Linked DNA regions of Homo sapiens: regions 1, 2, 3, 4, 5 and 6 are each linked to region 7. Evidence: promoter capture Hi-C in 16 types of primary human blood cells and fetal thymus (Javierre and others, 2016). All regions are on one chromosome and are shown on one strand. The core of a region is centred on a gene start or on the middle of the fragment in contact, and the rest is flanking DNA. Distances in the headings are between cores, read along the strand shown.

The links. Contacts are between HindIII fragments. The CHiCAGO score rates a contact against its expected background, and 5 or more counts as called.
Region 1: a contact is called between a fragment that was not itself captured here and the fragment with the promoter of USP25 in region 7, in 1 of 17 cell types (monocytes). The highest score is 7.0, in monocytes.
Region 2: a fragment that was not itself captured here is called in contact with the fragment with the promoter of USP25 in region 7 in 1 of 17 cell types (naive B cells); the score reaches 5.1 in naive B cells.
Region 3: a fragment that was not itself captured here is called in contact with the fragment with the promoter of USP25 in region 7 in 1 of 17 cell types (M0 macrophages); the score reaches 5.9 in M0 macrophages.
Region 4: a contact is called between the fragment with the promoter of LIPI here and the fragment with the promoter of USP25 in region 7, in 6 of 17 cell types (activated CD4 T cells, naive CD4 T cells, total B cells and 3 more). The highest score is 9.7, in activated CD4 T cells.
Region 5: a contact is called between a fragment that was not itself captured here and the fragment with the promoter of USP25 in region 7, in 2 of 17 cell types (M2 macrophages and total B cells). The highest score is 6.1, in M2 macrophages.
Region 6: a contact is called between the fragment with the promoter of BTG3 here and the fragment with the promoter of USP25 in region 7, in 1 of 17 cell types (non-activated CD4 T cells). The highest score is 7.5, in non-activated CD4 T cells.

What each region holds. Positions count from the first base shown.
Region 1 is chr21:14,362,082-14,365,918 of GRCh38, forward strand. No RefSeq gene overlaps it. Among named protein-coding and RNA genes, the nearest start is that of HSPA13, 19 kb to the right of the region's middle. The HindIII fragment of the contact is 1,543 bases long and covers 1,642-3,184 here.
Region 2 is chr21:14,227,867-14,231,624 of GRCh38, forward strand. It overlaps RBM11 (RNA binding motif protein 11), which reads left to right. Exons shown (of 5, transcript NM_144770.5): 5 at 1-506. Among named protein-coding and RNA genes, the nearest start is that of RBM11, 14 kb to the left of the region's middle. The HindIII fragment of the contact is 4,077 bases long and covers 1-3,670 here.
Region 3 is chr21:14,247,393-14,250,964 of GRCh38, forward strand. No RefSeq gene overlaps it. Among named protein-coding and RNA genes, the nearest start is that of RBM11, 33 kb to the left of the region's middle. The HindIII fragment of the contact is 4,134 bases long and covers 9-3,572 here.
Region 4 is chr21:14,208,985-14,212,817 of GRCh38, forward strand. LIPI (lipase I) reads right to left here and starts at 1,971. Exons shown (of 10, transcript NM_001302998.2): 1 at 1,816-1,971. The coding sequence starts at 1,861. The HindIII fragment of the contact is 13,443 bases long and covers 1-3,833 here.
Region 5 is chr21:14,398,081-14,401,805 of GRCh38, forward strand. No RefSeq gene overlaps it. Among named protein-coding and RNA genes, the nearest start is that of HSPA13, 17 kb to the left of the region's middle. The HindIII fragment of the contact is 7,464 bases long and covers 1-3,725 here.
Region 6 is chr21:17,611,374-17,614,753 of GRCh38, forward strand. BTG3 (BTG anti-proliferation factor 3) reads right to left here and starts at 1,528. Exons shown (of 5, transcript NM_006806.5): 1 at 1,326-1,528. BTG3-AS1 (BTG3 antisense RNA 1) reads left to right here and starts at 313. Exons shown (of 1, transcript NR_149073.1): 1 at 313-2,741. It also overlaps a transcript of CXADR not described here. The HindIII fragment of the contact is 7,083 bases long and covers 1-2,308 here.
Region 7 is chr21:15,728,493-15,731,917 of GRCh38, forward strand. USP25 (ubiquitin specific peptidase 25) reads left to right here and starts at 1,490. Exons shown (of 26, transcript NM_001283041.3): 1 at 1,490-1,946. The coding sequence starts at 1,902. RefSeq lists a silencer at 1,095-2,054. The HindIII fragment of the contact is 4,884 bases long and covers 498-3,425 here.

The DNA of each region.
Region 1 (3,837 bases), core at 1,163-3,662, 1.4 Mb before region 7:
CAAAAATTCTCATCTTGGATGAAGCAACAGCCTCCATTGACTTTGAGATGGACAAGTTGGTGCAGACCACAATCAGGAAGGAGTTTTCTGATTGCATCATCCTGACCATTGCTCACAGACTGCAATCTATCATTGATTCAGACAAGTGTGCTTTCTTTCTTTTCAGAAATAAAATCATTTCTGCCAAGATAAATATTGGGCATATGAAACACACTGATTACATGCCGGTCATAAATAATTATATCTGTGCTGAGAGATACAAAATTTTCCCTAATGATATAAAAGGTATTTTCCAAAATCACTGGAAGAAAAAGTTCAAGCTAAAAGAATATTAGAAAACTTGATATAGATAATGATATATATAGAAGGTATTTTCCAAAATAATTGGAAGAAAAAGTTAAAGGTAAAAGAATAATTACTAGAGAACTTGATATAGTTCCTGAATTAACTAGCACCTATATTTTGTACTGAAATAACTCATAGAATAGTTTAAACTTTATATTAGCAGGACCAATAAAATGTGAGGTGGAAGACTGTATGTTATCTGACACTATTCTTTTCACATTTCAGGGTGCATGTTCTAGACTCAGGAAGCATTGTGGAATTCGAAGCGCCTCAGAATTTGATACGTCAGAAAGGACTTTTCTATGAAATGACAACGGATGCTGGAATAACACAAGACTCAGTGACAAAAAAACAAATTACTTTAGCTGTATGTTAATTTGCCTAGTAAAAAAACACTACAGTGCATTAGTATTTAAAAAGCAAAGACAGAAGAGAAATGCACAAGGGCAGGCCGCTGCTATGAGTTGGCACACACACTCATAGGCACCAGAGTTTCTTTGTTTGTTTGTTTGTTTTTGTTTGTTTATTTGTTCGAGATGGAGTTTTGCTCTTGTTGCCCATGCTGGAGTGCGATGGCTTGATCTCAGCTCACTGCAACCTCCGCCTCCCGGGTTCAAGCGATTCTCCTGCCTCAGCCTCCCGAGTAGCTGGGATTACAGGCACCTGCCACCATGCCCAGCTAATTTTTGTATTTTTAGTAGAGCTGGGGTTTGGCCATGTTGGCCAGGCTGGTCTCGAACTCCTGACCTCAGGTGATCTGCCCGCCTCGGCCTCCAAAAGTGCTGTGATTACAGGTGTGAGCCACGGCCCCCGGCCATCACCACAGTTTGTAACCATCCTGGGCTGTACCTAGATTTCCCTCTTCCGTTCGTGCTTACCTTGTTCACATTGGCCAAAATGCCAAATGCCACTTGTCCTTTAAGTCCCTGACTTCTCTTGGGAGTTCCCTTCTCAATGTGTCCCCCGATCTTCCCCTCTGCCCTCCAGTGTGATCTAGACGCCCCTTTTCTGTGCTTTCATTAGCCCCATGTGCATACCTTTATCATGGCAGGGCTCATACTCCATTTTAAAGTCTGCTTTCCCCTTGAAGGCAAGTGCCCAGTTTTAATCATCCTTGTATGTTATGTTCCTAGCATAGTTCCTTTCACATAACTGATGCCGAGCAAATGTTTGCAGAATGAATAGCTAGACATTTTAGAGTACTATAAGTACTTATTTATATATAAATGGATGTGGGCTGGGCACTGTGGCACACACTCATAATCCCAGCATTTAGGGAGGCCGAGGTGAAAGTAAAGCTTGAAGCCAGGAACTTGAGACCAGCGTGGGCAACAAAGCAAGATCCTGTCTCTACAAAAAGTAAGTAAATATAATGAAAAAAATGAGATGGGCATGATAGTGCATACCTGTAATCCCAGCTACTCAGGAGGCTGAGGTGGGAATATTGCTTGAGCCCAGGAGTTCAAGTTTGCAGTGAGGTATGATACACGATAGCACTCCAGCTTGGGTGACAGACACCCCATCTTTCAAAAAAAATGAAAACAAATAAGTTTTACAAATATATTTTGAGCTATTGTGTAATTTATGAAATGATGAAGAAATCACAGAAAAAAATAAGCTAGTCAGCTGCTTTTTGGAAAGAGTAATTATATATTAACAGAATTTTATAATTGTTTATAATGTTTTATATTTTTACTATTTACCTTTGAGTGAAGAAAAAACCTAATATTTTCTTTGGAACATTATTTTTTGGTTAATATATATACCTCAGTGAGATATTTTATTACATTTATGAGAGGATTGTTGATTTGTAGTCCTAATCAGATTTTGAAGGGCTTTTTCTTTAGTAGCTTTATTTAAAGGAAGCAACATTATGTCTCTGAATTGCCCTTCAAATTTAAAGTCTTTAAACTTCAATAGGATTTTCTTTCAAGAAGATATTAATAAAATAGTTTAACATGTTCTTTAAAGCCCATCAACCATTTCTTTTGTCCTCCTTTCTTCCTCTGTATGCAGCCCTGTACAACCTTGCTCTATTTCCTAAGGGTATTTATGAAAAGTTGCCTTAAACTAGAAAACTTGTATTATCTAAAGTCTCCTCCCTTAAGGATGTAAGCTACTTGAAGTGTTGTCCTGTCTTTACAATCCCTGAAGTGCTTTGTAAACATTGAATAAATAGCTGTTGAATTCTATTAAGAAAGGAATCAAAATATTTCATTCATATGAGTTAAAAGATGTTTTAGCTCCCTACTCCTATAATTTTAGTAAATCAGAGAAGCTGAATAATTTTAAAATCTAATGGGAAATCAACAGTAACCTGGATAAATTGTGGTATATTCACATAATAGAATACTATCTAGCTAATAGAATGAAGGTACAACAGCTACTGTGTACATTAGGCAATTTGATGAATCTCACAAAGAATGTTGAGTGAAATAGCCACAAAAGAATATTGCTATATGACTCCATGATTCTAATTATATAATTTTTTTAAAAGAAAAATTAATTTATACTATTAGAAGTTGGGATACTGGTTATCCTTGGTGGGGAGGGTTATAATAAGGTACACAAGGTAGACTTCTGGATTAATGGTAGCATTTTGTTTCTTGAAGTGAATCTGAGCACTCATTCAGTTTGTGAATGTTCATCAATCTGCATATTTAGAATACGGGTAGTTTTCTGCATATATATACAGATATACATTATCTTCATATGTAATACAGAGTAAAAGAAAAGCAAAAGTAAAAAACACAAAAAGTGACTAAATCAAAGTTATTCAAAGATAATTTTATTGTTTTAAGAAATTAATATTTTATTCTTATTTCAATTATGTACATAAAGCTTGATCAATTATTGATGTACACTAGAAGCAAAGTACAAAGCACTCAAAATGATTGGATTACAGAGAGGTAGCACGTTTGTAATAAAAAAGATTATTCCATGATTGTATGATTTGTTTAAAGATTATAACTTCAAAATAGATTCATAAAATAATGATAAATTTCAATAGACAAAATATTTACCATAGCTGATAGAGAAAAATCCTATGTAACATTAAGTTGCTTTCTTTGAGGATAATGAGAATGTTCATTATTGAAAGCCCACAATGTGCCAGGTAATGTGCAATATATTTGGAACATGTGTCACTTTCAATTCTCACTAAATAATATAAGAAAGGAATTATCTGCTCTATTTTACCAAATATGATATTAAGATTCCAAGAGGAGCTGGAATCTAGGTTTACGTGACTACATAGCTGATGATGCTCTTTCTACTTCTCTACCAAGATGTCTCATTCCAGAGGAAACACTAAAAAATAGTCTGTAGTTCGAAAAACTTCCAAAATCTTTTAAAAAACAGGATTTTAAACCAGTATCTTTGTAAGCATATTAAATAAAATCAAAGCTTGTGGTGGGGGTGGGATCCATGCCTCTTTAAATATAGCATTAGGTTGGACCATATAAAATAGTCATTTCTGTAGGTCAAAAAATG
Region 2 (3,758 bases), core at 382-2,881, 1.5 Mb before region 7:
AAAGATAATTATCATGAAACCAACTTTTGGATCATTCCCTTTTTATACAATTGTGTATTTATAGGGATACCTTCCTCTTCTCACATATTAATTGTATGTCATTAAAATCAGTTGGCTATGTCAGTGTGTATTATTCACCTCTTTTGCTAGCAAGGTTTGAGATGCTATATTAACATTTAAATCATGAAAATGAGCAAGTAAATAGAATAATATTTTATTAATGTATGATATGTAATACTTATTGTCTAAATCAAGTTTCCTATTTTTGGTTTATTTATTTTAGAAGAAAAATAAAATTATTTGGGCATTTTTGTTTATAGCTCATTACAAACTAGAGTGATGAATATATATATTTACTAAAGCTAATTGAAAGAGTCATGCAACTCAGTTGGGAATTAACCACTCAATTCAATAGTAAAAGCCATGCTTGGATGTTTCTTTTGCATGTTGCCTAGCATTTTATAGATATTTATTATTTAAAAAAATAAAGATATGTTTTTAATGAAGAGAGTAACTGAATTTTAATCTTGGTTACAAATATATAATATAGTGAAGTTTGAAACATAAATATTAGTTTATTTCTATCTAATCAAAATGAAAAACTAAATTTTGCTTTATGTAGCTGATATGGTTTGGGTCTGTGTCCCCACCCAAATCTGACCTTGAGTTGTAATCCCCATTATTCCCACATGTCAAGGGCAGGACCAGGTAGAGGTAATTGGATCATGGGGGCAGTTTCCCCCATGCTGTTCTTGCGATAATGAGTGAGTCTCATGAGATCTCATGGTTTCATAAGCATCTGGCATTTCCCCTGCTGGCACTCACTTCATCCTGCTGCCTTGTGAAGAAGGTGCCTGCTTCTCCTTTGCCTTCTACCATGATTATATGTTTCCTGAAGGCCTCCCCAGCAGTGCAGAATTGTGAGTCAATTAAACCTATTTCCTTTGTTAATTACCCAGTATCAGGTATTTATTCATACCAAATACAGTTATTTGGTACCAGGAGTGGGACACTGCTGTAAGGTTCCCAGAAAATGGGGAAGAGACTTTGGAACTGGGTAACAGGCAGAGGTTGAAACAGTTTGAAAGGCTCAGAAGAAGACAGGAAAATGTGGGAAAGTTTGGAACTCCTTAGAGACTTGGAGGGCTCAGGAGACAGGAAGATGTGGGAAGGTTTGGAGCTTCATAGAGACTTGTGGCATAGCTTTGATCACAATGCTGATAGTGATATGGACAATGAAGTGCAGGCTGAGGTGGTCTCAGGCGGAGATGAGGAACTTGTTGGAAACTGGAGTAAAGGTCACTCTTCTTGTGCTGTAGCAAAGAGACTGGTGACGTTTTGTCCATGTCCTCTATAGATAGAGATCTGTGGAATTTTGAACTTGAGAGAGATGACTTATAGTATCTGGTGGAAGAAATTTCTAAGCAGTAAAGCATTCTAAGAGGTGACTTGGGTGCTCTTAAAAGCATTCAGTTTTATGCATTCACAAAGATATGGTTTGGAATTGTTTAAAAGGGAAGCAGAGCATAACAGTTTGGAACATTTGCAGCCTGAGGATGAGACAGAAAAGAAAAACCCATTTCTGAAGAGAAATTCAAGTCAACTGCACAAATTTGCATAAGTAATGAGCCAAATGTTAATCACCATGACAATGGGAAAATGTCTGCAAGGATGTCAGAGGTCTTTATGGCAGCCCCTCCCATCAAAGGCCCAGAGGCCTAGGAGGAAAAAATGGTTTCATGGGCCAGGTCCAGGGCCTTGCTGCTTTGTGCAGTTTCAGGACTTGGTGCCCTGCATTCCAGCTGTGGTTAAAAGGGACAAACATACAGCTCAGGCCATTGCTTCAGAGGCTGCAAGACCCAAGGCCTGGCAGCTTCCATGTGTTGTTGAGCGTGTGGGTGCACAGAAGTCAAGAATTGAGGTGTGGGGACCTCCTCCTAGATTTCAGAGGATGTGTGGAAACACCTGGATGTCCAGGCAGAAGTTTACTGCAGGGGCAGAGCCCTCATGGAGAATCTCTGCTAGGGCACTGCAGAAGGGAAATGTGGGGTTGGAGCCCCACAAAAGTCTTCACTGGGACCTTGCCTAGTGGAACTATGGAAGAGGGCTACTGTCCTTCAAACCCCAGAATGGTAGGTCCACCGACAGCTTGCACCATGCACCTGAAAAGCTGCAGACACTCAACACCAGCCTGTGAAAGCAGCCAGGAGGGGGGCTGTATCCTGAAAAGCCACAGGGGCAGAGCTGCCCAAGGCCATGGGAGCCCACCTCTTGCATCAGCATGACTTGGATGTGAGACTTGGAGTCAAAGCAGATCATTTTGGAACTTTAAGGTTTAATGACTGCCCCTATTGGATTTCAGACCTGCATGGGTCCTGTAGCCTCTTTATTTTGGCCAATTTCTCTCATTTGGAATGGGCATATTTACCCAATGCCTGTATCCTCATTGTATCTAGGAAGTAACTAAGTTGCTTTTGATTTTACAGGCTCATAGGTGAAAGGGTCTTGCTTTGTCTCAGATGAGACTTTGGACTTGGACTTTGGGTTAATGCTGGAATGAGTTAAGACTTTGGGGGACTGTTGGAAGGGCATGGTTGTGTTCTGAAATGTGAGGATGTGAAATTTGGGAGGTCCAAGGGCGGAATGATATGGTCTGGGTCTGTGTCCCCATCCAAATCTCACCTTGAATTGTAATCCCCATTATCCCCACATATCAAGGGCAGGACCAGGTGGAGGTAATTGGATCATGGGGATGGTTTCCCCCATGCTGTTCTCATGATAATGAGTGAGTCTCAGGAGATCTGATGGTTTTTTAAGCGTCTGGCATTTCCCTGCTGGTATTCACTTCATCCTGCTGCCTTGTGAAGAAGGTGCCTGCTTCTTCTTTGCCTTCCACCATGATCATAAGTTTCCTGAGGCCTCCCCAGCAGGGCAGAACTGTGAGTCAATTAAACCTCTTTCTTTTATAAATTACCCAGTCTCAGGCATTTCTTCATAGCAGCATAAGAACAGACTAATACAGTAGCTTTATCTATAATTCATGTTTTTGAAAATTTAAACTGGAAAATACAAGATTTTTTTCTTTTAAAATTCACATTTTTGCAACTTGGAATCATGCCAAAGGGAAAAATATGTTTCTGAGTAATTAGAAAGTAATAGATCTTTAAACAACTTATTAACTTCCACTCAGCCTTTCCTTTAGTTCTGAAGTTTACCTTAGCCCTAAATTATTTCATTGTGATTGGCATTTTAGGAAATATGTATTAAGGAATGTCTCTTAGGAGATAAGGATAACATATGTCTAAGAAAATTATATTGAAATATTATTACATGAACTAAAATGTTAGAACTGAAAAAAAATTATTGTAACTCCTTCCAGCGTAGGCAGGAGTATCTAGATACCAACTTTAACAACTCAACTTTAACAACTTCGAACCAACCAGATGGCTAGGAGATTCACCTATTTAGCATGATATCTTTTATTGATAAAAAAATATAAAACTTCCATTAAATTTTTAAGCTACTACAATCCTATTAAATTTTAACTTACCAGTGTTCTCAATGCTACATAATTTAAAATCATTGAAATCTTCTGATTTTAACTCCTCAGTCTTGAAATCTACTTATTTTTAGTTACATATATATCCAATCTACTGCCGCTAGTAGAAGAAGCTTGGAATTTGAGAAAAAAATCAGACGTTTTGTATATTCTCATATTCACTAATTTATTTTTTAAATGAGTTTCTGCAATGCATCAA
Region 3 (3,572 bases), core at 826-3,325, 1.5 Mb before region 7:
TAACTAAAAGCTTTCAGTTTTGAAAATAGCAAGTAATATTAACCAGTGATTCACAAAAGAAAAAAAAACTATCAATGGATATATAAGAAAAAATGTCCCAAAGATGAAGTCTGAAGCCAGTATGAATATTCTTTTATTCTTTGTATCAAATTAATTATTCTACCTTCATAATTTTAGAATTTTTCTCAATACTTGTATTAGTTTGTCCTCGCACTGCTATAAATAAGTATCCAAAACTGAGTAATTTATAAAGAAAAGAGGTTTAATTGGTTAATGGTTCCAAAGGCTGTAGAGAAAGCAGGATGCTGGCATCTGCTCAGCTTCTGGGGAGGCCTTAGGAAACTTACAATCATGGCAGAAGGTGAAGCAGGAGCGTCACATGGCAGGAGCAGGAGGAAGAGAGAGAGAGTGGGGAGGCTCTACACACTTTTCAACAACTAGATCTCCTGAGAACTCACTATAGAATACCAAGGGACGGTGGTGCTAAACCATTAAGAAGAAATCACACGCTCATGATCCAATCACCTCCCGCCAGGCCCCACCTCCAACAGTGGGGATTACAATTCAACCTGAGATTTGGATAGGGACACAGACCCAAACCCTATCAATACTATTGCCATCTTATTTATAGAATATTTAAAATGTGACATTCTTCTCATTGATTTTACCTGAAATACACTTCATTCTTCTAAATTGGCCTTTTTTTCCACTTATGGGATATACAAGAACACTCTTTTTCTCATCCATCTCTTTTTAAATTACATCTTATTCACTTTCATACCAACCTGTTCTTTCTTTGTAGTCTTCTTCTCATATTTAATTAATGTTGAAGCATCTTGTGTCCTGAAGAGAATAATAAACATGCTCATTACTACATTTCTTAAAGTAAGTATTTTTGGAATTTGCCTCTTCTCCGAAATATCATGATTTGTTCTCTGTTGCTGTATAATACATTTTAATATTCCCTCTTTTATAAGTACACTCATTCCTAAATGAGGAGAACTCTCCCAGCTGCAGTGTTAACCCAATTACATGAAGTGAGGAATGAGTTTATGTCCATTGAGTTTCAACTGGGGTACAAATCTTATTCTTACCTGGAATCAGAGGGCTATGGGTGGACCATGGGCTGAGTTCATATGCTCTTTCATTGCTATGAAGGCTTTTATCTGTTTGGGTTCTGCAGAAATTAAATGAGCTCTTTCTATGTTCACCTCTGGCTTTTTAACATTCCTACCAGATAATGCACATGGATCTGTAAAATCCCCAGTGTGCACCATGAGAGAAGGTCTTCCTGACCCCCTCCCTGTTTCTCATGCTTGTTGTAGACATTACATCTTGCAGAAAATAGTAATCTGCCACCACCAGTTTACTTTCAGATGGCCCTTGGTTCCATCCCATTTGTATGATAGGAATTTTGGTCTCTAATGTAATGTAGAAAAAGTTCACTTAAAATTTAGATGTTGACATGACAAAGTAGCATCGAGGCAGTAGATCAATGGCTGTCAAGGTTACTATTCAATAAAGATATTTGCATTTAGAAACAGGAAGAAAGTCGCAGAGAATCAAGAAAGGATGGCTGTTGTGGGAAGTCAGGGACCCCAAACAGGGGGACGGGCTGGAGCTGTGGCAGAGGAAACATAAATTGTGAAGATTTCATGGACGTTTATCATTTCTCTAATAATACTCTTATAATTTCTTACGCCTCTTACTTTAATCTCTTAATCCTGTTATCTTCGTAACAGGTCACCTCAGGACCCTGTGATGATTGCTTGTTTACTTTTGGGATAATTTGAAAACAAAATCAGTCTTTGTATGGTATTTTTCCCCCACCTGCTTGGTTTGATTTTTGTTTATTTTATATCTCATGAACAAAAGTGTTATTTAATAACTTCTTGCCATTTTAAGAACATGACTGTAATTAATTTGCTTCACTCAGCTTCTAAGATAACCACTAGTATAAACAGAATAAAATAAAACTCACAAATTGTACAAACTGATTGTAAAACATGTGTGTTTGAACAATATGAAATCTGATTGTAAAACATGTGTGTCTGAACAATATAAAATCAGTGCACCTTGAAAAAGAACAGAATAACAGTGATTTTAGGGAACAAGGGAAGATAACCATAAGGTCTGACTGCCTGCCGGGTCAGGTAAAAAGAGCCATATTTTTCTTCTTGCAGAGAGCCTATAAACAGACGTGAAAGTAAGAGAGATATCGCTAAATTCTTCTCCTAGCAAGGAATATTAAATATTAAGACCCTAAGAAAATAATTGCATTCCTTGTGGAAGGTCTATAAACGGCTGCTCTGGGACTGTCTGTCCTATGTGGTTGAGATAAGGACTGAGATATGCCCTGGTCTCCTGCAGTACCCTCAGGGTTATTAGGGTGGGGAAAAAAAATCCCGCCCTGGTAAATTTGAGGTCAGACCACTTCTCTGCTCTTGAACCCTGTTTTCTGTTGTTATGATGTTTATCAAGACAATACATTCACAGCTGAACATAGACCCTCATCAGTAATTCTAATTTTGCCCTTTGCTTTGTGATCTTGTTTTTACCCTTTGCCTTGTGATCTTTGCTGGACCCTTATCAGGAGTTCCTGATTTTGTCCTTGCCCTATTTCCTCGGAAGCATGTGATCTTTGCTCTGCCTTTTGCCCTTTGAAGCATGTGATCTTTGTGACCTACTCCCTGTTCGTACACTCCCTCCCCTTTTGGAATCCCTAATAAAAACTTGCTGGTGTTGCGGCTCAGGTGGCCATCACAGACCTACCAATGTGTGATGTCACCCCTGGTGGCCCAGCTGTAAAATTCCTCTCTCTGTACTGTTTCTCTTTATTTCTCAGGCCAGCTGACACTTAGGGGAAATAGAAAGAACCTATGTTGAAATATTGGGGGCAGGTTCCCCTATAGATGGCTTGCTGTTTCCCACAGCTGAACTCATTGGCCACTTACTTCCATCAGCCAGGCAGTCTCCAGAAAATTCTCCCAGACCCAGGCAAGATACTACCATGGCTGTTGTGAGTTTTATTTTCTTCTGTTTCTACTAGTGGTTATCTTAGAAGCTGAGTGAAGCAAATTAATTACAGTCATGTTCTTAAAATGACAAGAAGTTATTAAATAACACTTTTATTCATGAGATATAAAATAGACAAAAATCAAACCAAGCAGGTGGGGTAAAAATACCATACAAAGACTGATTTTGGTTTCCAATGATCTCAAAAGTAAATTTAAAGTACTGATATTTTCTGTAATTTTCATTTTTTTAACTAGGAAAATCATATAAAGACATGCTAGGACAATTCATTTAAACATAAAAAATAAACATTTCATAAAAATCACATCAGTGCTGATGACTTAATGGCAGCCTAATATCCTGAAAGTAAACTAATCTGTCACCATAGCTTTTTTTTTTTTTTTTTGAGACAATCTCCTCTGTTACCCAGGCCGGAGTGGTGCAATCTTGGCTCACTGCAACCTCTGCCTCCTGGGTTCAAGCGATTCTCCTGCCTCAGCCTCCTGAGTAGCTGAGATTACAGGCATGCACCATGAAGACTGGCTAATTTTTGTATT
Region 4 (3,833 bases), core at 721-3,220, 1.5 Mb before region 7:
AGGCTGTAGTGAGCCATGAACTTCACACTGTACTCCAGCCTGGGTGACAGAATGAGACCCTGTCCAAAGAAAAAAAGAATTTCTGACCCTTGCAATATAATAACAGCAACAACAAAAATTTCAGTGTAAATGGTTACAATAAGTTGGTAACTGTACTAAGAATAAATATGCATATATGCATATAATTTGAATATACAGATACATAGATGTACTGTATATCTGTATAAAGTTTTTTGATCTATCTCTCCTCTCCCATTTTATTCTACTTACAATTTTTAAAAACACCTGACTAAACTGCTTTTCGGAATGTCGTTTCTTTATTAAAGGCAGATTTAATCAATGATTTTCATGTTGACAACCATGAAACATGCCCTCCTTGAGGTATATATCAGAATCTCTAGTGGAGAAGAAAGGAGCATGTGTAATAAATAAAACACACTTGTATGAAATAAACTACTGGAAATCAACAAAATTTTTTAATCAAGTAGAGATTCAAGGAAAATGAGAGAATGCATAGAGTCTACATGGGTTAAAAATGAATTTGAGGATCAGTAAAATTTGTAATTCACTTATTTTCTATTTACTACTGTTAATATCTAAAAGTTCTACTATTGTATTTTAATCATCATTACACAAGAATTAGCAGACAGAAACATACAAAGCAATTATGTTTGAATTTTCCCAACTGAAAATTTAGGCAACTGACTAAATAAATACTAATCAAAACAATAATATCAGAAAGTCTGTCAAATAAGTTTTTAATGTAAACTATGATATTAAAATGATTATAACTGTATTAAAAATGACACATAAGATTAGGGGCCTAGACTTCAAATTTCTCTGGCTTTCAACTGAAGGTGCCACTATTTTACATTATAATAACATAAAATCCCTATCAAGAAACTTAAGAGTAATAATATAAATTATAAACTACATATCAGTATCATTTAGTTTCTATATTTAAATATAAAATTCAAACATTTCCAGAATTTATGGTTATCTCAAATAGCCAATTGAAAACATAAGAAATAATGGTAATTTCTAGTTAATTTTAAAGTTATTCAAGTATGCATTAACAAATTTCAAATAAATTTAAAACATAAAGGAAATAATCTGCTCTCATAAAACCCCTACAGAAAACTATCATCTTGAATTTTAAATTTGCCACTGTTATTACCATAAAGTAGAACTAATTGTTCTACTTATAAGTCGAACAAGTAATTCTACTTTCTCATAAAGTAGAAAACGATACTCTTAATATTGATAAACTTTATTACTGTACGCCAATAAACCAGAATAAAGTTCTACCTTATTACCATAAACCAGCTTTGTTTTTCGTCATACTGAATGAGAGCAAAAGTTGTAGTATCTGGTTATTTTGTTTGTTTTGCAATCGATAATTTATCCAAGTAAGAATTTTCTTCAAAAGTAGAGCTAGTTAAACAAATAAAATTGAAACAAGATATTTAAGGCATAATTTTAAATACCAAATTAATTTCTCCATTACTGAATTTTTTTCTCTTGAGTATTTCTATTTATTCTCTAGTTACATCTTTTTTTAAAAAAAGGTTTTCTAGTTACTAATTATCTGGCAAGGAAATAAAATGCAAAATGTCAACTTATTAAACAAACACATGCACACACACACGTACACACACAGAAGTTTTCTTAATAGTAATGTTTGTTATAATTAGTACCAATAATCTAACATATTTTTATCCCATTATATCATAACATTCTTTATCCCAGAATACAGACCACACTATTTTATATGCAATTTTTAAAGATAAATCAAATTATTAATTAATATCTTACCAGATCTCACCCAGCACATCAAACAAAGAAAAATGTATACTCTCATTTGGAATCTGAGAAAAGCAAAAACAGCACTCAATTCACCAAAAAGGAAATTCCGTAACTCATTGAGGTTTCTCTTTGGTAGGATCATCACAGGCTGGCAGGTTCTTCTGTAAAAGTTCACTGATTTTTGCTCCTCCCTCTTGGTTGAAAAGGTGAGGTAGTTTGTTTTCTCCCACTTTAGCTTGTGGTTGTGGGAAGGATTTTTAAGTCACAGGCTCTGTAATAAGTCACAAACAAACCTTCAGCTACACAAGTTGAATTTAAGGGAATGATAAATCTAATTACATCTTTCTGTATTCCTTTTAACCTCAGGATTTCAGAAGCGGTCAGGAAAATATGCAAATGTGATGTTAGAAAATGCTAGAAATGGAAAGAGTCAGAAAAAGTTGTGGTTTATATTCACTTTGACTACAAACTAAGATATCTTTATATACCATAAATCAATAATGAAAGCCATATCCATTAAGCTCTTTCAAGTATAAAAGATGAGCTTTTCATATTTATGTTATTTTACATCCCCAAAGCAGGGGCTATTTTAACATTCAAAATTTTGGCTCATCACTTGAGGCTAAAAGGTGAAAATTATAAAAAAAAAAGTATTTAATATGATGACCATTTTAAAATTAGCATACATTTTCTTTTTACATGTTTACTTAATTATCTTCTTTTCTTAGCAATGGACTTTAGTAAGCAAGAAAAATTGGGAGTTGTTCTAAGTACATAAATTGAAAGTTTAAAAATTAATTCATTTTTAAAAAATTCAAGTTTCTCTAAAGTTCCAAAAATACAGTAAGAACAGAAGTGTTTTTTGTATGTTATAAATCTGCAGAAACTAATCTGAGGTCTGGGGAAGTATTTGAGAAAATTCACAAACAAAATGAAGTATTAGTTTAAAAAAATCACAAACATTTAACTGCTGAGGAAGTTCCATCATTATTTTGAACTGTCTGATCTCTGGGTGTTTTACATGAGATTTCCATTTTTTAAAAAATACCACCACTACAATTTGTTTGAAGACCAAAAATAATCTAGGTCCTTCCACAGCACTTAGCTGTAAGAACTGCACCTCTCTAACAAAGATATAAATAAGCCACATCATTTCAGAATATGGGAAGAAAGATAATGTGTCATACATCCTAGAACAAATTTTTCCTAACAAATTTTACTTAATAAATTAAAATACAAATCTTTCCTCCTTCACTTATAATTTCCTTTTCTCTTTGTGCTTTCAATGTGGCATTATAATATGACTCTTGCACATTTACTTTCATCTTTATGAGTTCATACTGAAAAATACTGGCATATCAGGCAGTATAATATAGAGTTTCAAAATTAAAAATCATGCTTCTTCATTATCATGTATTTTGCCTACTGCCAATATGAGAAAGATGAGGTTATTAATGTTCATTGCATTAAATAGGAAAATATTGGGGGATGACAAAGTTACAAAATGCCAATAGTTTAGTAAGACAATCTATTTGAGCACTTGTTTAGTCCTCCTTGGATATAAAAAATGATTGTAAGTAGCTTACATACACACTTACAATGTAAACATTAACTCAAAGGGGATGTTCATGATGATGATGTGATGATGATGATGAAGATTTAAAATTTATTGAGCCCTATGTATCAGGCGTTCTTCAAGCACTTTACAAGTGAGTTAATTAGTGTTTGAGATGGAAAATCATTGTTTATCACAATATATTTTGTCACAACCTTTTATTAATTTGTCAATGTGTCAAAATGTTTAACAATCTTACCCTTTGACTCAGCAATTAAGCAACAAAGATACTTCCTACAGAAATCCAAGACACTTTCCTACAGACACATCCAAGGTCCTTTTATGTGGCAAATGGCCTACATGTGCACAAATATATGAGCAAAGACATTCATCTCACCATTCCAATAACAGTCAAAAAATGAAAGCAATATAAAATCTAACAATGAGAGATTAGTCTAATTAGGTATCTACT
Region 5 (3,725 bases), core at 883-3,382, 1.3 Mb before region 7:
TTTTCACCTTCTAAATCTTAGACAAATTTCTTTTGTAGTAATGTTATTTCGAAATCACGCTGAGAAAGCACTTCTGGGCCATGTAATTCCAAATTAGTTATATTGACAAAGTGGCAAGGTATCCACACTTTATAGATTTCTGTGACTTTTTCTCTCAATATTTACATTGCAAGTTGTTTTTTGTAGCTATATGTCTTTAATTTTCATTAGTCTATTATAGTCCATTATGTGAAAAATCTCAAATGTATTTTTCCATTATCTTGTTTATGGACATTTCAATTGCTTTTAGTGTTTTGCTATTATGAAGAATGCTACTGTGGATATTCTTCTATATTTCTCGTGATGTAATTGTGCAAGCATTTCTCTACGGCTTAGAAATAGGAGAACTGATGTCCAACTTTACAAAATGGTACCAAATTGTTTTCCAAAGTTCTTTTTATGAAATTTATACTTCCACCAATGCCATGTAGACTTTTTATTGATACATAATAATTGTAAATGTTTATGGAGTACTTGTGATATTTTGATGCGTGCAATGTTTGATGATCAAACCAGGGTTTCTAGGCTATCCATCACCTCAACCATTTATCATTTCTTTATGTTCGGAACATTTCAAATCTTCCCCTCTAGCTATTTTGAAATACACATTAGATTACTATTAATTGTAGTCAGTCAACTGTGCTATCAAACACTAGAATTTATTCCTTCTATCCCATGTTTGTACCCATTAACCAACCTCTCTTCATCCCCATTCCCTTCCCAGCCTCTAGTAACCATCATTCTACTCTCTACCTCCATAAGAGGTAGCTCCCACAGATGAGTGCTAACAGTGATATGTGTCTTTCTGTGCCTGGTTTATTTCACATAACATAACGACCTCCAGTTCCATTGATGTTGCTGCAAATAGGATTTTATTTTTTATGGCTGAATAGTATTCCATTCATCCTGTACAATTGGGAAACTATTTGCAAATTATTCATTGAACAATGTACTAATATCCAGAATATGTAAGTAACTCAAACAGCTCAATGACAAAAAAACAAATAATCCCATCAAAAAGTGGGCAAAGGATCTTAATAGACATTTCTTAAAAGAAGACATACAAATGACAACAGGTATATGAAAAAATACTCAACATCACTAATCATCAGGGAAATGCAAATAAAAGACAATGAGATATCATCTCACCTCTGGTAAAATGGCCGTTATTAGAAAGACAAAAAATGACAAGTGCTGGTGAAGATGAGGAGAAGGTGGAACTTTTATACACTGTTGGTGGAAATATAAATTAGTATAACCATTATGGAAAACAGTATGAAAGATTCTCAAAAAACTAAAAAAAGAACTATTGTATGCTCCAGCAATTCCACTAGTGGGTACTTATCCAGCAGACAGGAAATCAGTCATCAAAAGAATACCTGCACCCCCATGTTTTATATTGGCACTATTCACAATAGCCACATAGACTTTTAATTGAGCTACATACTTGCCAACACTTAGCATTTATCATGCTGGTCAATATTTTCTAGTCTGATGAAAGTAAAATGACATCTGTTTGTGATATTTATTTGCATTTTTCTAATTGTTAATGAAATTAAATAATTTTTCATAAGTTTACTCTCCATTTTTTATTTTCTATAAATGCTTGTTCATGTAAATTTTCTCATTTTTCTAATTTTTTTCTTTCCAATTTTAGGAATTCTTTATATATTTTGGTTACTAATGTTTTACAAGTTATACATGTTGCAAATGTCTCTATGGCTTATTTTTAAATATCTTTGTAATATCTTTAAATGACATAAGTTTTTAATTATATAATGTGGTCAATTTTATGATTAGTACCTTTTGTATCATTTAAAATCTCCTAACCTACCCTGAGTCATTAATACATTCTTCTATTTTATCTTTTTTAACTTTCATATTTGGGCCTTTAATCAACCTGGAACTGATTTGTGCATGTAGTGTGCTGTAAGGATCCTATTTTTCCCCCATATTTATAACTATGAGCCAACACTATTAGTGAATAGTCTAATTTCTGCAATGTTTTGCATGGCTATCTCTATCACATATTAAATTTTAATACTCACAAGTCTGTTTTTGAGCTCTCTATTTTGTTTTACTGGCCAATTGATCTAATACTGTTTTAATTATTATATTTTTATAATAGTTTATGCTGTTAATCAGGACAAAGATCTTCACTTTTTCTCTCTTCTTCATGAGTGTGTTGACTATTTTTCTTCCTTTTATTATTTATGTCAGTTTTAGAAAAAAATTTTTAAGATGATTCAACTTGATTCTGAGCAACCAACCTGGCTTTATATTAAGCCTGTCGTAGGCCCCTGGCTACATCTGTGATTTTCGAGTTTATCTTCGCTGTTTCATTACTGGCCCAGGATTTGGAGTGATGATCTTGGCATTTGCTCCAAAGGCATCACTGTCTCTTGGAGATTCTTTTGTTTTTTCTTTTTGAGTTTTAGCAAACTTATTTTATTTTTTGTCCCTTACAGGTTTGCCTGAAATTCTCAGTAGCCCAGCATGCAATAAAAACAATGTTTCATGGAAGCTCTTTTTTTTTCCCTAGTGAGAGGGAGCTTTGCATATGTAATATACAATTCTAGAAGTTCTCCAGATTTCTTATGTTGTAAACTTAAAACTCTGAGCCAAAAATATCATATTTTGAATTAACTGTTGACCTCAGAAATGACAATTTTTACTTGTGAGTTAGGGTAGGTGAAAGTGACTGAACACCTTAACTTCTGTCATTTCCTCTCTACTGTACATTATTGCAGAACTGGAAAGAACTTTACAGCTAAATAGTGAACAGCCCTTAACTTTCTTTCTCTCTTATTTAGAAGCTATAAACCAGAGATGATTTGTTTTCCAGATAAGGATATACTAATCAATAGTAGTGAAAAGCCATGCCAAAATGAGAGAGGCAGCCTAGTAAAATCTCTATGTCAGTTATTTATGTCAAGAGCATTTAAAAAGTAGGCCAGAATGTAGAGTAGCTTGAATTATATCCTTCAAACAAAGAAGTAATTAAAACAAACAAATATAAAACAAAAACCTAGCAGGAGGATTATCATGTTGTTAACTATTATTCAATGTCAGGCTTCATAATGACTCTAGGATACTGAGAATGAATTTTGAAATTATTAATTGAAACTCTGCCATTTGAATTTCTAGCAAGATCTTTCTATCAATACTTATCATTTTCACCATAGTAGTCCACTAACATTTTGGCATGCAATCGTTTGGATGTAGTTTGAAGTGGCCTTCAATGTTGACATTTAGCTTCTTAAGAATGAAACAGGGACAGGTGTCCTCACCAGATAGGCCAGGTGGGATCATGCAAAAAGCAGAATCTTTGGAGCCAGACAGACCTGCCTTCACATGCCAATACACAATCTGAGAGAACATTCTCCAGGTCTTGTGAGCCTCAGGCAACTCAGCTACAAAAATTGGGATCACAATCCCTTCTTTGCAGGGCTGTTGCAAGAATGACATAAGAGAAAACCTTTTTTATGCTTAGCAACTAATAGGCACTCATTAATAGTAGCATAGTTATCATTATAACTCTTATCATTATTAGTGTCTACTTTAGATTCTTGTGTAATTCAGGACAAATTCTTCACCTTTTCCTAAGCAGGATTAGATAATAAAAAGAGACAATAACCATTCATTTGCCTTGAGCAATATTTTTCCTTTGATCAGGGAGTGGAGCA
Region 6 (3,380 bases), core at 278-2,777, 1.9 Mb after region 7:
TTGTTTCTGTTTGCTCTGCTTCATATAAAAAAATAGAAAAGAAGGAAAGAACCACTTAGTGGTTGCTTTTGGTTGTAACACAAGATGACTCATTTGGACTTTTGTTTTCCCCGTTTGAAGAAATGATAGCTCGAACAGCTGAAAAATAAGCCCACTCCCACCAGTATTCTAGGAGTACCAAAAGGTGAAAGAGGGAGAGTTACAGTCAGGGCAAGAACCACCAGAGGCAAGCAGGGCCAAGAAGACCTCAGGCGTCTTGAGTAAGTAGGCGTCCTCCACCCACACTCAGAGCAAAAGGCTCCCATTTTAAATATCGCACGGTGACGTCATCCTGGGACCTCGTCACCGCGGCGGCTGCTCCTCAAGTTCTACTTTGTTCCACAAGGCTCCTCTGCTCACGGCTGCGTGGATAAAACCCAAAGGGAATCCAGAATCAAGCTCGGCCTCGCAGGAGTTTATAACTTTTGTACTTTTCCCTCCCTTGTAACGAAAAGCTAATCGCAAACGTTTCTAGGAACACATTTTTCTCCTGATAGACGTTCCCAAGGTGGAGGGCGCGAGAAGACTGGCCCGTGGGGTGAGGAGCCCCGGCCCGACCTCAGCGGCGCCACAAAGCCATGAAGAGGGGAAATAATTTTCCAAGGGGCTAAGAGTTGGACTTTCTGAAGCCATCGAAACCTGCTGCTAGGCTCTCCCGCTGGGGTTTTGAGAGAGGTAGGTGAGGAGGGATCAAACATCTCCACCCGCTCTTGAAAGAACCGCCTTGAGCTGCGCCCAACTTCTGCAATCCCGGTTTTCCCCAAGTTCAAGGGGAAGGGCCCTGGCGCCCAATGCCCAGCCTCCCCGACAACATCCTCGCCAGGGTGCGCCTGCCCCGCGGGTCCGCTGTCCCCGGCGGGCGGCCCTGGGTTCGAGGACCCGGCTTCCCGGAGGCGCGACTCTCCAGCAAACAAGCGGAGCTCCAGAAAAAACACCGACGCGAAGGGGGTGGACAGAGGGTGGGAAGCCGCGGGGTTGTCGCCCACCCGGAGGCGGAATGTAACGCGCTGTGGGAAACGTGGCAGGAGCCCTGAGGCGGCGTCTTTTTCCTCAGGCGCCCGCCGAGGGTCCCGCGGAAAGCCTCGCGGGCCGCCCTCGCGGCCCGCAGCCCCGCTCTGGCGCCGAGCCGGAGCCCATGCAACCTGGTTCCATCCCCTGCCCCTCCCCTGTCCCCGGTGCGCCGCCCGCCAGCGAGCCTTCGACGTGGCCGCAGGGGCGACGGGACCACCCTCCCCCGATACCCACAGCCCCGCCATGTCTGCCTTTCCCCGGCCCGGTCTCCTCACCGCCGCTGCCGCCGCCGCTCTTCGGCCGGAGATTCGGCGGCCCAGACCGTGTCCTGGCCGGGAACTGAGGGCTCCGCCTCAACGGGCCCGCGCTGGGCAACAGGGAGCGCAGCGAGCCTCGTCCGGCGCGTGCGGCTCCCGCGTCGTCGGGCGGCCAAGCGCGCGTTGAGAGGACTGGCGGGCGGACGAGCGCGCACACGAGTGAGCGCAGCCCCAAAGCGGCGCGCAGGGGGCTCGCGGCCCGGAAGAGGGGAGGGGCGATGACCCGGGAAAGGGTTGGCGCGCGCGGGATCGGCTCGCGCGCCTGAGGGGCGGTGCCGGGGGCGGGGCTTCGCCGCGAGGCCACCCCCGAGCCCCGGGCCTAGCCGCACGGGAGGCGACACACCCTCGCCCTACCCTGAGCCTGGCGCAGACCCTCGACCGCGACGGCGCGGTCCGCAGAACCGCGGGCTTCCCTCCCCGGCAAAAAGCGGCGCTGAAGGCCTGTGGGACCCCCGCCCGGCCGCCCTACGTGCGTCAGCGCCTTCGGGGGTCGCGCGGGCTTGGTCCTTTCGGCTGTCTCGGCCTTTTTGTTTCCCCCTCAGGTCTCTCCACGCTGCACTTGACACCCTCAGGGCGGAATGGCGAGTTCTAGACCCAGCTCTCTAGACCCGGGGCTTCATGGGGGACACGGACTCGACGGGAAGGGGAACTTGGCATTTATGGACAGATCCTCATCCTTCTTGCTGTAGTCAATTACACGCACGTTAACCGTGCAGCCGCCCTGCTGTATTTTAGGCGGTTGTTGGCACTCCTAGTTGGGCCCTTCCCTGGCCCCTCACAGCAGGGCCTGCCTCCTGTGGACGCTTGTGTGCTGCCCTGGCACCGGCCACTGTGTTTTGCATAAAGGAGAGGCTCCAAAGATGTTGGCCAAAGGAATGAAGCCTTGAGAGTCCAGGCTTTCTATTTCTGAGACACTCTACTCAAGGACTTCCCAGATGCAAAGCTTCATCTTTGAGCAAATACAAATATGGAGAGGGAACATTAACTTTCTGAAGAAAAGAAGGAACATCTTTTCAACCTTTTATATTGAGTTAACACCATGGTCTTAGTTTTGTGAAAGCACTTTAATACATCCAACTAGCGGGAGGAATACAAGATATTCCTACCTTTTTATTATTATTATTAAAAGAGGGCTAAACCATGTTGTAAACTACTTAAGAACTGAATGTTCAAGTTGTACAGTATATTGGCCAGATTCCTTACTGCCCACTAGGCTTGGGAGCATGTTTTCAGCTCAGTTTTATGAATGTTTTAAATTTGTATTACTGATCTTTGTTATAGCCAATTAGCAATTCAAAATGGTAATTTTTTTAGCAGTAATAAATATACCATCCCCCAAACAGTACAATAAACTTTATTTGTAAAAAAAAAAAATTATACTCTTCTAGGACTTAGTCTACTTACTGGTACATTTAAAGAGGATATTTACACCTTGGAGTCTTCTAGGAGGTGTGAAGGTGTTTTTATTTTAAAATCATAACAATCTGATGAGGTTATTTTTACAGATAAAGGCCTTTAATTCTGCAGTTTCATAAAATAGCTAGGTAACCACCCACATTACTCAAAATTTGTCCAGAAATTTCTATAGTTTAGGATTAGTATTTTGTGTAGTATTTATAAATCTGTGGTCCACATTTTCCAGTCTTAGAGCAGTACCATATTCAAAAAATACAGGCAAGAACCTGAAACCCAATTTCAAAATGACTTTTAAAAAATTCTCAGGCTGGGCACTGTAGCTCATGCCTGTAATCCAGTACTTTGGGAGGTCAAGGAGAGAGGATCATTTGACTCCAGGAGTTCAAGACCAACCTGGCCAACATCATGAAACCCAATCTCTACAAAAAATACACAAATTAGCCAGGTGTGGTTGCATGCAGCTGTAGTCTCAGATACTCTGAAGGCTGGGGTGAGAGGATCACCTGAGCCCAGGAAATTGAGGCTGCAGTGAGCTATGATAACATCATGGCACTCCAGCCTGGGTGACAGAGCAAGACTCTGTCTAAAAAAAGAAAA
Region 7 (3,425 bases), core at 240-2,739:
AATTCAAATGTATGAGCTTGATTTCTAAAAAACAAACAAACAAACCAAAAAACCAAAACCCTCATATGGAGAAACATGAAGTTAGCATATAAACAAGAAAAGAAGAAACTTTGATCTATAAATGAAGAAAAATGGGTTTTGATAAGCTCTCTTTGACAGGTCACCCTCCTTGGGCTTCAGAGTTATAAAAAAATCGATACGTGAGATTAGAGATGTGACAGTATTTCTAAATTTCTGTTTCCAACCGTTTCATGACTTTTCATTTCCTCTAGAAAAGACATAGGATATTAATATAATAAGATTTGCAATTTGTTAAATATCAAATGAGTCAACAAATATGAAGCTTCAAGGAAAAGGTGACAACAGGTGGTACCAGACATCTGAGCTGCAGAACAAAGATGGTTGTAAAGTGCACAGAACTGTTACAAAGCCTTAAGAGCTACTATAATCCATGATTATTAAATAACACCACATACTATTTCAATTAGCATTTGCCAAGCTTGCTTTCCTTGTCATTGGATTAAAAATTATACCCGGATTTTCAAGTGTATTCTATTTGTGACAATATGCATTGATAATTTCTCTCCTCACACTGCTGCACTCTCACCTCCGTTCCCAGATTAGCTCCTGGAACTCGAGATATTTTTGTGGCTAGAGATTGCTTTCTTAATGTTAGATTTTCCTTACAATTCCATATATAGTCAAGCATTCCATGCATGGTAGTTAATTGTTTGCTTAATTTGGCAACTGGGATATTAGAATTATGTATCATTAGGCAGTGATATTTTTGTAAGGTTGTTTGCTAGATAGATCCTATTTCATTTATATTAAGTCTTGGGAAGATAAACTTTATTTTTCCAGAGCCTAGCAGTGACTGACACATATTCGAATGAATGAAGGTAGATAGAAAATGTCTATATTCATTTACGTAATGATTAGTTAAGGAGAAAAGTACTTCCCAGCATAAAGATTTCTGGCAACCCTTTGCTTATTTGACTTTTCCCTTCAGGCAAGTTCAAGGCTTGTGAAATTCCTAGAAAGGCGAGGGGAGAGAACGCGTGACACAGAAAGGGGCCGGAGTTCGGGACCCTACGCAGTTTTGGGACGTTATGGGCATGGAGGGAAATGTTTGCTTTGGAGGCTTTGGGTAAGCTAGGGATCCGACAAGCCCTGGGCGCAGGGAGGAACGCTGCCCTCCGGCCTCCAGTCGCGCTCCCCGAAGCCCAGCGCCAGCGTCGCGCAACCTGCCGCAGGGGCGGCTCCCGGGCCAGGCAGCCAGGCGCGCCCTCGCCCCACCCGGGAACGCCAGGCCCGCGCAGGGAGGGGCGGGGCTCCATGGCGGCCCCGCCCCGCCGCCCGGAGGGTCACAATGTAGGGTTAGGGCGGCCGGCGGGCGGGGCTCTGCGGGGGAGGAGCCGCCGGGCGGGGGCGGGGATGGCGCGTGGGGGAGGGGAGGGAGGAGGACTCGCGGAGGGAGGAGGACAACGCCATTCCGGGCGGCCGCTCCCTCCGTCCCCTCTCTCCCTTCCCCAAAGCAGCCCGCGGACCGGCAGCAAAGGAACGTGCGAACGCGTGACGCCGCCCGACTGGCTCGCGCTCTCCCGTGCCCCGGCGTCCTCCGCCCGCTCATGGCCCGGGCCGCCGCGGACGAGCGGCGCTGAGGCGGGCCGCGTGGAGACGTGAGGCGGCCGCCGTGGCCCTCACAGTCGGCGTTTCGCCGCCTGCCCGCGGTGCCCGCGCACGCCGGCCGCCATCGCCTTCGCGCCTGGCTGGCGGGGGCGCTGTCCTCCCAGGCCGTCCGCGCCGCTCCCTGGAGCTCGGCGGAGCGCGGCAGCCAGGGCCGGCGGAGGCGCGAGGAGCCGGGCGCCACCGCCGCCGCCGCCGCCGCCGCCGCGGGGGCCATGACCGTGGAGCAGAACGTGCTGCAGCAGAGCGCGGCGCAGAAGGTGAGGCGAGTCCGCCAGCCGGCGGGCCCCACTTCTCCTTCCGACGGGCTGTCCTCTCCCGCTGCGGCCGGGCGCCCCGGCCTCGCCGCCGCCGCCTTCCCGGGCTTCCTCCCCGGTCACCCCCGGCCCCTGCCCATCGCCTCGGGGGCGTCGCGCCCAGAGCCCAGCTGCGTGTGGGAAGCAGAGTGTAGTTTGCGGGCTTCAATCCACTTCCTTCTGCCGATTGTTTTCCCGTAGCAGACGGTGCCAGGTATTGAGAGCGACCCTCACATTCCTACAGTGCTCTGTGTGGCATCTTAATGAAACTTTATTCTCTCCCCTTAAATGAGAAAGAATAGCTAGTTGTCATCCTTTCTGAACCGATTTTGTCTTTCAAAGGTAGTAGTGTACCAGGCCTGCTATTTTGCAAAACGGTCTCCACCAAAATCGAATTACCTGCCTCGCGGGGCAGGCGTGTTGACCAGGTGGACTCTAGAAGTAGGTGGTTTGCTTGGTTTCTTTTCCTTTTAAGGTTTCCCTTTCTTCTTCTTCTTTTCTGTTTTTTTTTTTTTTTTTTTTTTTTTCAATATAGAAACTGTCCCTAAGAGAGGAAACCTTTCTGGCCATGTTATTCCAGGAATCTTTTGTCCCCTAAGTTTGACCTTGTTCTTTCGTTCACCCTTTACTCTTGCATCAGTCACACATTCAAATGGTCACTCACTAAAGAAAACAATTAAAAAACTGTTTGTGAAACTTTATATCTTTAAAGTGAATAGAGATCATTCTGCTATTTTAGATTTTGCTTTCAGAATCTTAAGTGCACTATCATGGCTTGCACCATGTTCTGAAGAGTAGTTGGCCATGATTTAACTTCTTTTTTTAATTTTTAATTTGCGTGAAAAGCATTTTGGGCAAAAGAGTAAACCGTGCCTTAGTTGTGTTGGTATTACGGGGACAGTTAGGGTTTACTGTGATCAACCACCAGAGTTATGTTTGGTTTATCTGGGTGAGTAATGAATGCCCCACCCTGTTGTAGATTTGGTGTAGATTGCAATATTCTACCTGTGCTTGACTTTAGAATAAGACCTGTTCTAAAATGGGCTGTCTACATACAGCCTGCTAAATTTTTGCTTTGAGATTATTTTTAGAATTTTATGATACTGCTTTAAAGTAATCGAAGATACTCAAGTTTGGAAAGCAAGGATAGTGCATTGTTATTTTAGGCACGTTGGGAAAGTTGTTTTTGAGACTTGTATGTTAGTTGATATTATTGGTAAAGTTAGAAGGATATTGCACACTGCACTTTATTTACAGTGAAATAATTCAAGATTTAATAATGAGAATTTAAAAGAGTTTCCTTCCTAATCCTCCCTATTCTATTTTGAATACCTTCAAGTTCAATTTTTAAAGACTTAAGGCTTAGGAAAGAGCACATGGTCATGTGAACGCTAAGCAATATTTAATATGTATGGTACCATTTGTTTATAATTGTCTTCAGTG